Regions from separate parts of the Homo sapiens genome. Here region 2 is linked to region 1. Evidence: promoter capture Hi-C in human tissues and cell types (Jung and others, 2019). All regions are on one chromosome and are shown on one strand. The core of a region is centred on a gene start or on the middle of the fragment in contact, and the rest is flanking DNA. Distances in the headings are between cores, read along the strand shown.

Region 1 (6,874 bases), core at 2,517-5,016:
AGCGAACGGCTTTCATTGAGTCCATTTTTCCAAGTGTCACCACGTCAAGCTAGAGAAGCGAGGCGAGTGGAGGGGACGCAGAGGGGCCGGAAAAGTCACCCTTCTCTGGCCTCGTTTTCAGATAAAAACGGGAGCCTGGCTCGGCATCCGGGCGCCCGGTGTCTCCGGGGCGCTTCACTGAGGTTTTGTTTGCAAAACTAGCGTCCGTGTCCTGAAGCGCACGGCGTCTGGAAGCTGCTTTCCTGCTCGCCCTCTCCGAGGCCCCTCTTTGTGCAGCGAGCCTGAGAAATATGGAGGACCGTCCTCCGCAAGCGGGTGGTCGCGGGCGCTCTCCGATTCCTGGGTGAAGCTAGAGGGAAAACGGGGTTCCCGGGTCAGTGCCCCACTTTCCATCCCGGGAGAAACTAATGTCCGGAGAGGGCTCGTCTGATCCGCACAGAAAGGCCGACCTTGAGGGCGGCGGTCGTTCGGGGGAGAAAGCGGAGGCTCTGGGCTCGCGGGAGCGCGGCAGCCGGGGCTGGCATCGCAGAGGAGAGACACGCCACTGCCCCGCATCCCCAGAAAGCGCGAGGCGCCGTCCCAGCTGGGGCAGGCGGCCGAGGCCGGTCCTCATGCGCGCTTCTCGAAGCTTCCTGAAACACCTTGCGGAGTTCCGTGTGTATAGAACTCAGCACCGCCCAGCCCCTGGGCAGCTCAACTTTCTGCAGCCCCATCCCAGCTTCCCCGGCCCTTTGAACGGTGACCCCTCTTACCGCTTTCCCAGAGTTGTTTCGTGTTTGGGTCCACTCTGGGGGGCCCGGTACCCTCTAGTTATCTCTCTCTTCATTTATTTCTCTTTCTCCTATTCCTCCCTCCACCTCTCACCTTCCTCCTTTCCAGGAGAGCGACCCACGAATTCCTCTTCCTCCAGCCAACCCCAGGGCCCAGCCCGCAGACCCTGCGAGGGCAGGTCTCTGCCCACCGGCCCGCCAGGCGCCCTGGAGGTGACGCTCTGCTTCCCAGAGTCTCTGTTGCAGCCACGAATTGGGGTCTGGGTCGCAGGAAAGCACAGGGCTGAAGCCCAGCGTCTTGGGGCCATTTATACTGAGGCAGTCAGAGGCAAAGAGTCCCAAGAATTCAGAAAATACTTCTCAGGAAGCCGCCTAATTGGCTTTCATGGGACAGGTGGAGCCATTAACCTGGGATGGTTTTGCAGGAACCAAAGAGCTCAGGGCCCCTCCTCCCCCCAATATCATGTTCAGGAGACCCAGAGTCGTTGGACCCTCCCTTTCCTGACTGGTGATCATCAGAGTTTCCAGAGTTGCAGAAAATTCTCCCCCCAAAAAACCAAGTAAGCGTCAATAAGACTTCCCACAAACTCTCACCAGCCCTATTTTCCCGGGGGGCAGGTAGACTGTGGGGTTTGATTTTTTGAGACTCGGGGAGGACCCCTGGCAGATGTGTGCCTAGCCAGAACATTTGGTAAGGACTCCTCCAATGAAGAAAAAGTGGAGGAATCCAGCCCCAGCGAGAAGAGGCTTCCCCACCCTGCCCTAGACACACCGGACAGAGGGCACACTCTGACCAGAGCCACGTCCAGTGGCCAGGAGGCCAGCCCAGCACCTCCTCCCCCACCATTCCCGTCCTGGGTGGGGGGGTAATTTTCCTGGGAGCAGCTGTGGGAACTGTCGTTTCTCATCCCAGCCCAGCCAGCACTCTGAAGCCTGCAGGGGAAGGACAGCACGTGGGATGGACACTGGGGAAGGAGCTTCGCAAGGCCAGGGTGCAACCTTCAGGCCCCAGGTGGCCTGGCAGGCCACGCTGCCTCGGAGATGCTTGCCAGACTCCCCAAGTTCACTCAGGGCCTGGCAGCAACCTGCTGGCTGCCTCTGCGGGGGTCTGGGTTGCTGAGCACGGTGCAGCTGCCCAGGGCCAATCAGCCCTAGGGTGTCCGTGCCAGGCTGCGGCCTCCCCGCCTCCCCCGCACTGAGGGTACTCATGGCGTGCAAATGCTCCCGCACCCCCAGAGCTGCCCTATCGGATGTTTCCAGGAATTCACACATTTCCATAAAAATGCATTTTAAATGATGGACAGGCGAGCCTGGGGTAACAACGGGTGTTTGGTGGGTAGACAAGAGCAAATGGGAAGGAGCCCGAGGGAGGAGGGGGAAGAGAAGAGGAAACAGAACTTCCAGTTGGACATTCTGACAACAGCTGGAAGGAAAGTCTAGAAAAGATGAAGAGAGAGGAGGGGAGAAACCAACTGGGGCTCCCACCCTTGCCGTTGGATTCCTAATTCTCGTTTCAAATGGGCCCTGCTCTCCGGCAAAATTAGTTTAAAGGATTTTAAAACAAAGAAAACGAGATGACCGGTCTGGGAGCTCCTCAATCAGAGTAGAGAAGTTAGAGGGGGGCGGGCGACTTGGTTTTGAAGTCTTAGCTGAACAGTCACCCCTCCTCTCCTTGGCAAAAAGGATTCCTTTAGAACCTCCGAGGCTCCTGGATTTCTCCCTTCGCAAATGGAGCCGCATACTGCATTCCCCCGCTCTTTCGGATCGCTAAGCATGTTTCATGAGGGTCGCTGTCCCCGGGTGGAATGCGGCCGTATGCACGCGCCTCCCTGCACACGCACACACACGCACACTTACAATAAGTGTCTGCAGGAGGAGTGTCCTGCGCGCCAGCTCTGCGTTTAAGACAGGAAGCTGCCGGGTTACCGAGTCAAATGGGAGTGACACTATTCCTCTCCATCAGCAAGGAAAGCGGACCACAAAAGTCCCTTTGTATCTCGGCAGCTCATTTAATATTATTTATGCATTTTGTGCAAGGAATTGTGGGATTTCGCCCCACGGTAAACAATATGGAAATCTTAAAAATAGCGATCTTCCTGTGCGTGTCCACCTACGCGCCCCGGGGTGACCTGGCGGGGCTGTCGCCGGGTGACTCACACCCCTGAACCGCGAAGCGACAGGGAAAGCGCGGGCGAGCGCAGGAGACGCGGTCGGGGGTCTCTCCGGGTTCCTGGGCTCCCGCACCCGGAGCGGGGGACGCGGCCGCTTTAAGGGGAGGAGGGGCGGCGGGCTGCTCCTGTCACCCAGCGGCGGCCGGAGCGTCACGTGGGCGCGCGGCGCCGCGGCCATTGGCCCGAGGCACGTGTCCAGGAGACCGGCCTGCGACGTCACTCGAGGGGGCTCTGTTAAAAATAAGAACAAAAATCCAGAGTGAAAGTGTCTCAGGTTGCGCCGAGTGGCCTGGAAATTTCCGAGCCCGCGCGGAGGCCGAGGCGGCGAGGGCGGCGGACGGCCGGGGAGCGCGGGCGGCCCAGCCCGGCCCGGCCGGGCCCTGGCCTCGCGTCTCTCACCCATGCGACTCGGGCCGCGGAGCTCTGCGGGGCTCGGCGGGGGCGCGGCCGCACGCCGGTGGGGCGCCCCGGCCCGCAGCGGGGCGGCGGCCGCGAGGAGGGGGCCTCCATGTGCGTGCGGGCGGTGGCGGGCGCGCTGACCGCGGGCGCCCGGCACCCTCGAGGGCCGGCTAGGGCGTGCGGGCGGGGACGGCCGGGCGGCGGCGGCGGCCGGAGCCGGCCCGGGCGGGCGTGAGCGCCGGGGAACGCGCTGCCTGCATGCGCGCAGCTCTCGCCCCGGGCGGCCCAGGCGGCGGCGCCGGAGCCCGAGGCGGCCGGACGCGGAGAGGAGCGGGGAGCCCGGGAGGCGGCCCGCGTCCCCGCCGGACCACTGCGACTGTCTAGACCCCGGCTGCGCGGCGAAGTCGAGGACTTGGCTCTGTTGAATCTCTCATCGTCTGGGCGAGCGGGGCGGCTCGTGGTGTTTCTAACCCAGTTCGTGGATTCAAAGGTGGCTCCGCGCCGAGCGCGGCCGGCGACTTGTAGGACCTCAGCCCTGGCCGCGGCCGCCGCGCACGCCCTCGGAAGACTCGGCGGGGTGGGGGCGCGGGGGTCTCCGTGTGCGCCGCGGGAGGGCCGAAGGCTGATTTGGAAGGGCGTCCCCGGAGAACCAGTGTGGGATTTACTGTGAACAGCATGGAGGAGAATGACCCCAAGCCTGGCGAAGCAGCGGCGGCGGTGGAGGGACAGCGGCAGCCGGAATCCAGCCCCGGCGGCGGCTCGGGCGGCGGCGGCGGTAGCAGCCCGGGCGAAGCGGACACCGGGCGCCGGCGGGCTCTGATGCTGCCCGCGGTCCTGCAGGCGCCCGGCAACCACCAGCACCCGCACCGCATCACCAACTTCTTCATCGACAACATCCTGCGGCCCGAGTTCGGCCGGCGAAAGGACGCGGGGACCTGCTGTGCGGGCGCGGGAGGAGGAAGGGGCGGCGGAGCCGGCGGCGAAGGCGGCGCGAGCGGTGCGGAGGGAGGCGGCGGCGCGGGCGGCTCGGAGCAGCTCTTGGGCTCGGGCTCCCGAGAGCCCCGGCAGAACCCGCCATGTGCGCCCGGCGCGGGCGGGCCGCTCCCAGCCGCCGGCAGCGACTCTCCGGGTGACGGGGAAGGCGGCTCCAAGACGCTCTCGCTGCACGGTGGCGCCAAGAAAGGCGGCGACCCCGGCGGCCCCCTGGACGGGTCGCTCAAGGCCCGCGGCTTGGGCGGCGGCGACCTGTCGGTGAGCTCGGACTCGGACAGCTCGCAAGCCGGCGCCAACCTGGGCGCGCAGCCCATGCTCTGGCCGGCGTGGGTCTACTGTACGCGCTACTCGGACCGGCCTTCTTCAGGTGAGCCCGCGGGGACCACGCGTCCCGGCTCGCCGCGGGGAGGCCCGCGGAGCTGGGGGGCGGTGCTGGCGCGGGAACTTACCGGGAGGAAAACATCTCGAACCTCCCCCGCGCACACGCACAAAGACTCACGCGACATTGTGTGAAGCTGACGCCGGCCCGGGCAGCGGCCAGGAGTCCAGCGGCAGGACTGATTCGCTAGGGGGTACAGACTTCTTAGGACCGCAGAAGGGACCTTCTTTCTTTCTCTGTCTCTCTCTCTCCTTCCTCTCTCCCTGTCTCCCCTCTCTGTCTTCCACCCCGCCTTGGCGCATCTCTTCCCAGCCCCTAGCCCATGTCTCCCCCACTGTAGTTTTTTTTGGTGGGAACGTGGTGGCTGGAAGATGGGCCCGGAAGTGCACACTCTCATCCCCTTCCCTACGATCTTCCAACTCAGGCCAGGCCGGGGACGCATGCCCCAGCCCACCCCAGACTTGTCCTACCATCCGGTTATCCCGGCTGTGCTCGGGGAAGAAAAGGCGAGGCCCTTTGCCGCTCTGCCTTCTGCCCCTCGGGCCTGCGCTGACCGGTGGGACTCAGGAGGATGCACACAGGGAAGGAGGAAAATAAAGGCGCCCTTTCCCCTTGGCTCCACTTTGTTTGCCAGCGCCAGCCCGCAGTGGTGGGGCTCAGCCCCCTTCCTGCACACAGCGAGGACAAGGGAGGCAGCCGTCCCTCCCGGCACCTGCCATCCCCAAATAGAAAGGACCTTCTCTCAGGGTTTCCTGGGGGCTGCTGATGGGAAAGAGGCAGCATTCGCAGGGGCCCTGCAGAGATGCTGGATATATTTTTTCATAGATCTGCGATTTTAAAAAACTAAGTCCATGTCCTTGTAGAAATCATCAACTGCATTCCATGCGGGTCTGCGGCTGGGAACCGCCATTAGAAGTGGACTGTTTGACCCCGAGCTGGCAGCGGATCCCCGCTGCCCCCAAACCCTCAACTATTTTGCGGGGGTCATTTGCCCAGATCACAGCAGGAGTGAGCCAACCCTTGGGCCGCCATCCCGCAGAACTATGCGTGCATATTTCTGATGAAATTCAGATTTCTCAGCTAGATCTGAAATTTGCTCCATTGTTCTCGTCTTCCTCCTTTGTTAATATTTAATTAACATACAGGCTCACAATGCCGGGCGAGGAGACTCGGCCGGGCTTTGTGCGGCGCGGGAGTTCGCTGAGCCAGCCCCCAACGGCCCGGGAGCTGGGCAGCACCGCCCGGCCCGGCCTGGCCCGGCCCAGCTCAGCCCAGCCCAAGTCGCCTATCTTCATGGGCTTTAAAATATCCCTGCAAGATAATGTTTCTGTTCTTTGGTTTCTCCGAAAGAAAGGGGAGAGAGAGTTTTCTTGGGGAGGTTTGATTCTGTTTCTGAGACTCCTAAGTATTTGTCTTTTGAAAGAAAATCAAGAAAAAAACCTAAAAATTATTATTTTAGGGAAATTTATTGCCATAAAATGGTGTCCTTTTGCGGGCTGCTTCATGAGTGCATTAACAAGAGCCCCAGGACCAGAAGAGTTTGGGGGTAGAGTTCTGGGGAAGGGAGTGGTTGGAAACCCAGACAGAGATGGGCTCTGGGAGCAGGAGGCTGGGGCCTCTCCTGGAGCCTTGTGCCCCATCCCCCACCACCGTTCCGGAGGGCCAACCCCATCTCCAAATCTGCACCTACCCCTACCAAAGCCAGGCCCACTGGCCTGGAGCCCTGGGCGTGAGCAAGACAGGCACTGAGTGTGTACGTGTGCATGGGGTGGGTGCCCAAGTATAGGGTGTGTGCTCTCATGGGTGGTGAGCCTGCCTATGGGTTGCTTTAAAAGCTGCCCTTGGTGCTCCTGAGGTGGTGCCCACAGATCCTCTTTCTCCAGGCCTGTCTCCTGGAGAGAGCACAAGACTCACTTGGCCATGAGGGAGTGCTTGGCATTCACCCTGGGCCTCCAGTTCGTCCCCCACCTCTTGCTGGGCACAGCCCCAGCACCCTAGTTGACTCTCCTGACCTGGGCAGGGTGCAGTCCCAGGGCCTCCAAGGAGATCCACATTCCTCTTCTCCTCAGTGTGCCCGGCAGCTCTCCGGCCCTGAAGGGTGGGGGGCCCCCAGCCTTCTCCAGCCACAGGGACCTGTGATGAAGCTGGGGCCAGATGCTCCC
Region 2 (6,820 bases), core at 1,255-3,754, 52 kb before region 1:
GCCTCGCACAGGGTTAGAGACCAGGACCAGTACAGGACCCTCCAGGACACTGACAGGACCTGGCATGCAGGCTGGGACCGCTGTCCAATGAAGCTGCCAGGGTTCAAGCCCAAAGCCTCTCCCAGAGACAGAAGTGACCCAGGAGCCAGGGCAGGAGTCCGCAGATGCTGTTGTGCGCCTGGCGGGAGCCGTGGGTGAGCCCAGCAGGGAGGGCTGGCAGCAGACTCTCACTGGCAGCCACTTGGGCCTCTGGCTCCAGGAAGAGATGGGTTTTTGAGTCTTCAGATTAAAGGGCTTTACTCCCAGGGGCTGCGGAGGCTGGACAGAGGGGCTAAGTGGTGGGGACCCAGTAGATCTGTGACAAAGTGTCAGCCTGTGCTGCTGGCATGGGAACAAGGATGAGACCCAGGATTCCTGGCCCCACTGCAGCCTCCCATACCTCTCACCTGGTTTCCCAGGCTCCCCTTGGCCCCAAACCCACCTCACCCACCTCACCCTCATCACACCTGTCAGCTCCAGCCCCTTTCCTGAGCTACCCCATGCCAGGAGCTGGGGCTGAGACTCCCACTGAACCTTAGCTATGGGACCAGGCCAGGTGGCCAGATTCACAGCCCCCCAGTTCTAACAGCCTCTGCGAGTCAGGTGGATTTGATGGGGGGTGGGGGTTGAGCCTGGGAGGAAGCTCAGTCCATGCAGGCAGCCCCCAGCCACTGCCCACCCACCCCTCAGTGGCCCCCTCTCTACTGCGGGGATCCCTGGGGGAGCCCCTTCCTAGGGGCAGGTGCCCTCCTGAGCCTCGGTCACCAGCACCTCCCAGAAGGAAACAAAGGGGTGGGGAGCAGCCTAGGGCTCTGGCCTCGCTGCTGGAGGTGGCTGGAGGGACAGCCACCTCCAGGCACCAGGCAGGGGTCTGGCAGCTAGGGAGTGACAGCGCAGACCTGCTTATTTGCATGCCATATACTGCAGGAGACCTGCCACCGCCAACCCAGGAACAGAGAGGGAGAGACCCGCTCTGGTTTGAAGATGTCAGCACACAGCGGATCAAAAGTTTAGCCTGGAGGCTGCTGTCAGCCACTCAGACGCATAACTTTATACGGTTCCAGAGACGTGTGGTGCAGGAACTATGATGGGGAGACGACAGCAGGAGGAGGGCCATGGGGTGGGGAAGTTGGAGGTGGGCAGCCCCTGCTGGGGCTGGGGATTGGGCTGGTGCAGCCCCAGGCTGGAGGTGGGTGACTCCACCCTTTTATTTTCTGGGGCCTGCAGGTTCGGGTCCCTCAGCCCGGGCAGCAGCGTGGCCTCCACACCACGGGCCCCCCAGCGGGGCCCATCTTCCTGAGAGGTGGGGCGCCTGAGGGACTGCACCAGCATCCCCTTCAAAGCCTTCCCTGTCCCTTTTTTGCCCTCTCCCCAGAACAGCTCCCCCAGGGCGGCTGCTCTCTTCTCCACTGGGCAGGGGAGGAAGCAGGCCCAGCACTCGCCCAGGGAGGTGCCAGGACCAGAGCCCATCCCGGGAGGTGCTGCCACCTGGTCCCGTCCCCACTCACGCTGTGGAGAGGGCTCCTGTGGGTCAGAAGTCAGTTGGCACAGGCCCCCGCCTTCATCCCCAAGTGGTACCCATCATCGTTACATGGCACCTGTGGCCCCACCACCGGGTCAAGGGCTGAGCTCAGGGCCAGCATTCCCGTCTCCCCGTCTGGTGCCTGCCCAGGCCTGCTTGTGGTCTTGTGAGGAGGTGGCTCTGCAGGCTGCGGCCCTGGAAGGGGGATTCAAGCCCACCCGACTTGCTGAGGCAGCATAGGTGAGCGTCCTGCGCCTGGGGTCACCTGCCCCGCTGCCCCGGCCCCAGCACCACCGCCCGGAGGAATTTGTGGGTGTCAGTTCCCTGCTTCTCTCCTATCAGGAAACAGCTGCTTGAAATATTTTTTAAAGGAAAATATGAAGAATCAATTAGAAAGAGAATATCAAACAAGATTTTCTTGTTTAAAAAAATGACAAAATCCCTCCATATTTAAACTGAGTTCGAGAGAACCGTCCTGGTGTCTTTCTGCCTTTTCTGTGCTGCTGGCTTGGAAGCCTGACAGCAATTCTCCCAGTTTCTGAAATCTTTTTTTCACAGTCCACGGGGTGGTGTTTGCGAGACACACAGCAGAGGGCAGAGCTAGAAGGGGAGACGCAGCCGGTCCCTGGGAGAGCCACAGGCTGCCCCCGAACCCTCCACCTGTGTGCTGAGGCACGGTCCCCTCGGCTCGCCCAGTACGACTCGACTGGTTACAGGACCCCAGACTCAGTCCTCGCCCCAGTCACCCCTGCTCAGAGGTGCCAGTGGCTCTGGGCCTCTGCCTTCCTCCAGAGCCCCTTGGCTCAAAAAACCCTCAGCATCTCCCGCCCACAGCCTGTGGGGGCCTGTGCTACCCGGGCAGGGTGGGAACTGCCAGCAGCTCCTGGCCTCCCAGCAGCTCCTTCCTCCTGACACATTCCCCGTCCGGTTGGACCGTCTCCAGGAGTCCACACTCCAGCTCAGCCGGGCCATGCGGATCCCCTCACCGGAGCGTTCTTTAAGGACCAGGGCTGCCGAGCAGGTGATGGGCAGAAGGCCCCACCTCCCCACTGTGAGCCGTGTGTCTTGTGTGACCTTTCTGAGCCTTCGTGTCCTCATCTAGGTGGTGGCATTCGTGAAGCCCACAGGACGCCCCAGCAGGAAGCGGCTGTGGTTCTTGTCACCCCCACCATGGCTGCTGCCTGGCCCCACTTCAACCATGCCCGCCCCTCCGCTCGGCTGCACACAGTTTTGCTCCTCATTACAGGCTTCTCCACAGGTTTTCCTCCTGAACCATGTGGATTCTTCTTGTCTTCCCAAATCCACCAACCTCTCTGAGGGCAGGGATCAGGCATTCTTCTCAGTGTTTACTTGTGAAAGCATCTAGCAGAACTGGGGGCCTACAGACCACCTCAGAAATGGTTTGAAAGCAGAAAGTGCTACCATATGCAGTTGAAATTCCCAGGCAATTATGCATGTAAAAATTCCTGGTTGTATACATGGAACATCAAAGATCAGAAGGAAAGAATCAAATGCCTGACTGTGCTATGATAGCGCCATTTCCTTTAACTCGTTTCACAAACGCAGATAGAGCGCTTACCCCGAACCAGGCATGTTGCTGCGTGATTGATAAATATTAACTAAATTAATCTTTGAAACCACCCCATGAGGTGGGTATTATTGTTGTCACCCTTTCAAAAATGTGGAAACCGGGGTGGGGAGATGTTAAGACGCTCAGTCAAGGTCACACAGCTCACCCGCGGTAGAGCTGGGGTTCAAATGCAAGTGGTCTCGGTCCAGTGTTTACGGCTTTAAGGTGTGTTGGCTCCAGGGATGAGTCTTCATTTCTTCTGGGGGCTGCGGTTATGAAGAGACCGGCCCCAGACCCAGAGCCAATGCCGCCAGGCACTTTCTGAGAGGAGCAGCGGCGGTGTGAGAGTGTGGAGTGTGAGAGTGTGGGGTGTGAGAGTGTGGGGTGTGAGAGTGTGGGGGTGTGGGAGTGTGGGGTGTGAGAGTGTGGGGTGTGGGAGTGTGGGGTGTGAGAGTGTGGACTGTGAGAGTGTGGGGTGTGAGAGTGTGGGCTGTGGGAGTGTGGGGTGTGGGAGTGTGGGGTGTGGGAGTGTGGGGTGTGGGAGTGTGGGGTGTGGGAGTGTGGGCTGTGGGAGTGTGGGGTGTGGGGTGTGGAGTGTGGGGTGTGGAGTGCGGGGTGTGGAGTGTGGGGTGTGGGAGTGTGCGGTGTGGGAGTGTGGGGTGTGAGAGTGTGGGGTGTGGGAGTGTGGGCTGTGGGAGTGTGGGGTGTGGGGTGTGGAGTGTGGGGTGTGGAGTGCGGGGTGTGGAGTGCGGGGTGTGAGAGTGTGGGGTGTGAGAGTGTGGGGTGTGAGAGTGTGGGGTGTGGGAGTTTGAGGTGTGCGTGTGTCGGGTGTGGGAGTATGGGGTGTGGGATGTGAGAGTGTGGGGTGTGAGAGTGTGGGGTGTGGGAGTTTGAGGTGTGCGTGTGTCGGGTGTGGGAGTATGGGGTGTGGGATGTGAGAGTGTGGGGTGTGAGAGTGTGGGGTGTGGGAGTGTGGGATGTGAGAATGTGAGGTGTGGGAGTGTGGGGTGTGAGTGTGGGGTGTGTGAATGTGGTGTGTGAGAGTGTGGGGTGTGGGAGTGTGCAGTGTGTGAGTGTGGAGTGTGGGGTATGGGGTGTGGGAGTGTGGGGTGTGAGAGTGTGGGAGTGTGGGGTGTGGGGTGTGGTGTGTGGGAGTGTGGAGTGTGTGTGGAGTGTGGGGTACGGGGTGCGGGAGTGTGGGGTTTGGGAGTGCAGGATGTGGGGTGTGAGAGTGTGGAATGTGGGGTGTGGGAGTGTGGGGTATGAGTGTGTGGGGTGTGGGAGTGTGGGGTGTGTGAATGTGGGGTGTGAGTGTTGTGTTTGTGGGGGGGTGTGGGAATGTGGGGTGTGGGAGTGTGGGGTGTGAGAGTGTCGGGTGTGGGAGTGTGAGAGTGTGGGAGTGTGGGGTGTGAGAGTGTGGGGTGAGTGTGGGGTGTGAGAATGTGGGGTGTCAGATTGGGTGTGGGAGTGTGGGGTGTGAGAGTGTGGGGTTTGAGAGTGTGGGATGTGCGAGTGTGGTGAGTGAGAATGTGGGGTGTGGGAGTGTGGAGTGTGTGAGTGTGGAGTGTGGAGTATGGGGTGTGGGAGTGTGGGGTGTTGGAGTGTGGGGTGTGAGAATGTGGGAGTGTGGGGTGTGGGAGTGTGAGAGTGTGAGTGTGGGTGTGGGAGTAGGAGTGTGAGAGTGGGGCGTGGGAGTGTGGGGTGTGGGAGTGTGGAGTGTGGGGTGTGGGAGTGTGGGGTTTGGGAGTGTGGGGTGTGGGAGTGTGGGTTGTTGGAGTGTCAGGTGTGGGAGTGTGGGGTGTGGGAGTGTAGGGTGTAGGAGTGTGGAGTGTAGGAGTGTGAGAGTGGGGCGTGGGAGTGTGGGGTGTGGGGTGTGGGAGTGTGTGGTTTGGTAGTGTGGGGTGTGGGAGTGTGGGGTGTGGGAGTTTGAGGTGTGGGAGTGTGGTGTGTGGGAGTGTGGTGTGTGGGAGTGTGGTGTGTGGGAGTGTGGGGTGTGGGAGTGTGGGGTGTGGGAGTGTGGGGTGTGGGAGTGTTGGTTATGGGAGTGTGGGGTGGGGAGTGTGGGGTGTGGGGTGTGGGAGTGTGGTGTGTGGGAGTGTGGGGTGTGGGTGTGTGTGGTGTGGGAGTGTTGGTTATGGGAGTGTGGGGTGTGGGAGTGTGGGGTGTGGGAGTGTCCGGTGTGGGAGTTTGAGGTGTGGGTGTGTCGGGTGTGGGAGTGTCGGGTGTGGGTATGTGTGGTGTGGGAGTGTGGGTTATGGGAGTGTGCGGTGTGGGAGTGTGGCAGGCCACCCTGAGCTGGAGAGAGCAGCGACGGCTCCACCTTCCCTCCAGGGCTCTCTGCTTCTTCCCGCCCCAGCCACCGTCTCCTTGCCTGGCCCGGCGCCCCTCGGGACCTGACAGTTGTCAACCCCTTAGTGTAGATGTTCTTGACCTGCTGTACCTCCTGGGAATAAAGGAGAAATCGCCTAAAGGAATGAGTGTGTAATAGTGAAGTTCCAGACACAGTGGCACCTACGGCGGGGAATTCCTTGGGGTGGGGCAGGAACCCCCTACTGCCTTCACGCTAACCCATAGTGCCGCTCACGGCTGTCAAAGCTTGTCTGTGGCGCAGCTGTGGAGTCCTGGCCGCAGTGGGGAAGGGAACTGACTGCCGAGGCCGGAGGGCAGCCGGCCTGCCGAGGGGAACAGCTGGATCTAGGTCCAGGTCATGGGTAGGTGGGCGCGCAGGCAGACTTTCGTGATGTTGTGCACTTGACGTGTTGTGCTGGACTTCCACAGCAGACAGGAAGGGTGAACAGAGCAGCCCTTCAGAGAGAAGCACTGGGCAGTCACAGGGATTTGAGGGAGGGTGGAGGACACCCTGCAAGCCCTGCGTGGCCACCAACAGGCAGCGCCCTGCAGCAAGGGGGCCACCGTGTCCCAGCCTCTGCCGCCGCTTCTGTGCCATGAGACACTGGTGGGGGCACGTCTCCTGGGGGATGCAGAGCGCAGCACGCGAGGCGGGCTGTGGGCTCACGGGGCTGCCCCCTCCTAGCCTGGCCCCCAGTATCCGCAGAGTCCCTCCTCCCGAGGCTGTGCTCACCTGGCTCTCACCTGGTTGGTGTTTGCTCAGCACCTCAGCCAGGGGCCAGGAGCCGCACAGACAGACTCCCAGGGTGCAGGGGTTTCATTTGAAAAGATCAAGAACGAAACCCAAGCGGACTCGGTTGCTCAGAGCCATCAGGCCATAGCTTTGAGTGGCAGTCCGGGTGGTTCAGTGACTTTGAAATGGTTTCAGGATGGTGTGTGTGTGCTTGTGTGTCTGCACGTGTGTCTGAGTGTGCTTGCGTGTCTGTGCTTGTGTGTGAGTGTACTTGTGTGTGCTTGTGTGAGTGTATCTCTGTGTGTGAGTGTACCTGTGCTTGTGAGTGTGTCGGTGCTTGTGTGTGTGCTTGTGCGTGTCTGTGTGTGAATGTGTTTGTGAGGGTGTGTGCGCACGCATGTGAGAGCGCAGGTGTCTGTGTGTATAGAAGAGTGTGTTGTGTGAATGCATGCATGTGCTTACCCTTTGTATCCCCCACCTGCTTCCCTGCCTTGCCCACGCTCATGCGGGGAGGGGGCGCGGGGAGGGGGCGCAGGACGGGCCTGGTCCAGGCGCACAGGTATCCTTGGAGAGGGGCCACGCTCCAATGCCCAGGCTCCACTTCACG

Evidence for each region. The method cuts DNA at HindIII sites, captures the fragments that hold promoters and counts their contacts. A contact is called where the count stands out against the background at its distance.
Region 2: a contact is called between a fragment that was not itself captured here and the fragment with the promoter of EN2 in region 1, in 1 of the 25 tissues and cell types used here (spleen).

Annotation. Positions count from the first base shown.
Region 1 is chr7:155,454,363-155,461,236 of GRCh38, forward strand. It overlaps EN2 (engrailed homeobox 2), which reads left to right and starts at 3,767. Exons shown (of 2, transcript NM_001427.4): 1 at 3,767-4,700. The coding sequence starts at 4,016. It overlaps EN2-DT (EN2 divergent transcript), which reads right to left and starts at 2,756. Exons shown (of 3, transcript NR_186580.1): 1 at 2,628-2,756. RefSeq lists enhancers at 1-505, 2,429-3,420. The HindIII fragment of the contact is 19,554 bases long and covers 1-6,874 here.
Region 2 is chr7:155,403,430-155,410,249 of GRCh38, forward strand. No RefSeq gene overlaps it. Among named protein-coding and RNA genes, the nearest start is that of LINC03010, 25 kb to the left of the region's middle. RefSeq lists an enhancer at 5,085-5,807. The HindIII fragment of the contact is 8,046 bases long and covers 1-6,527 here.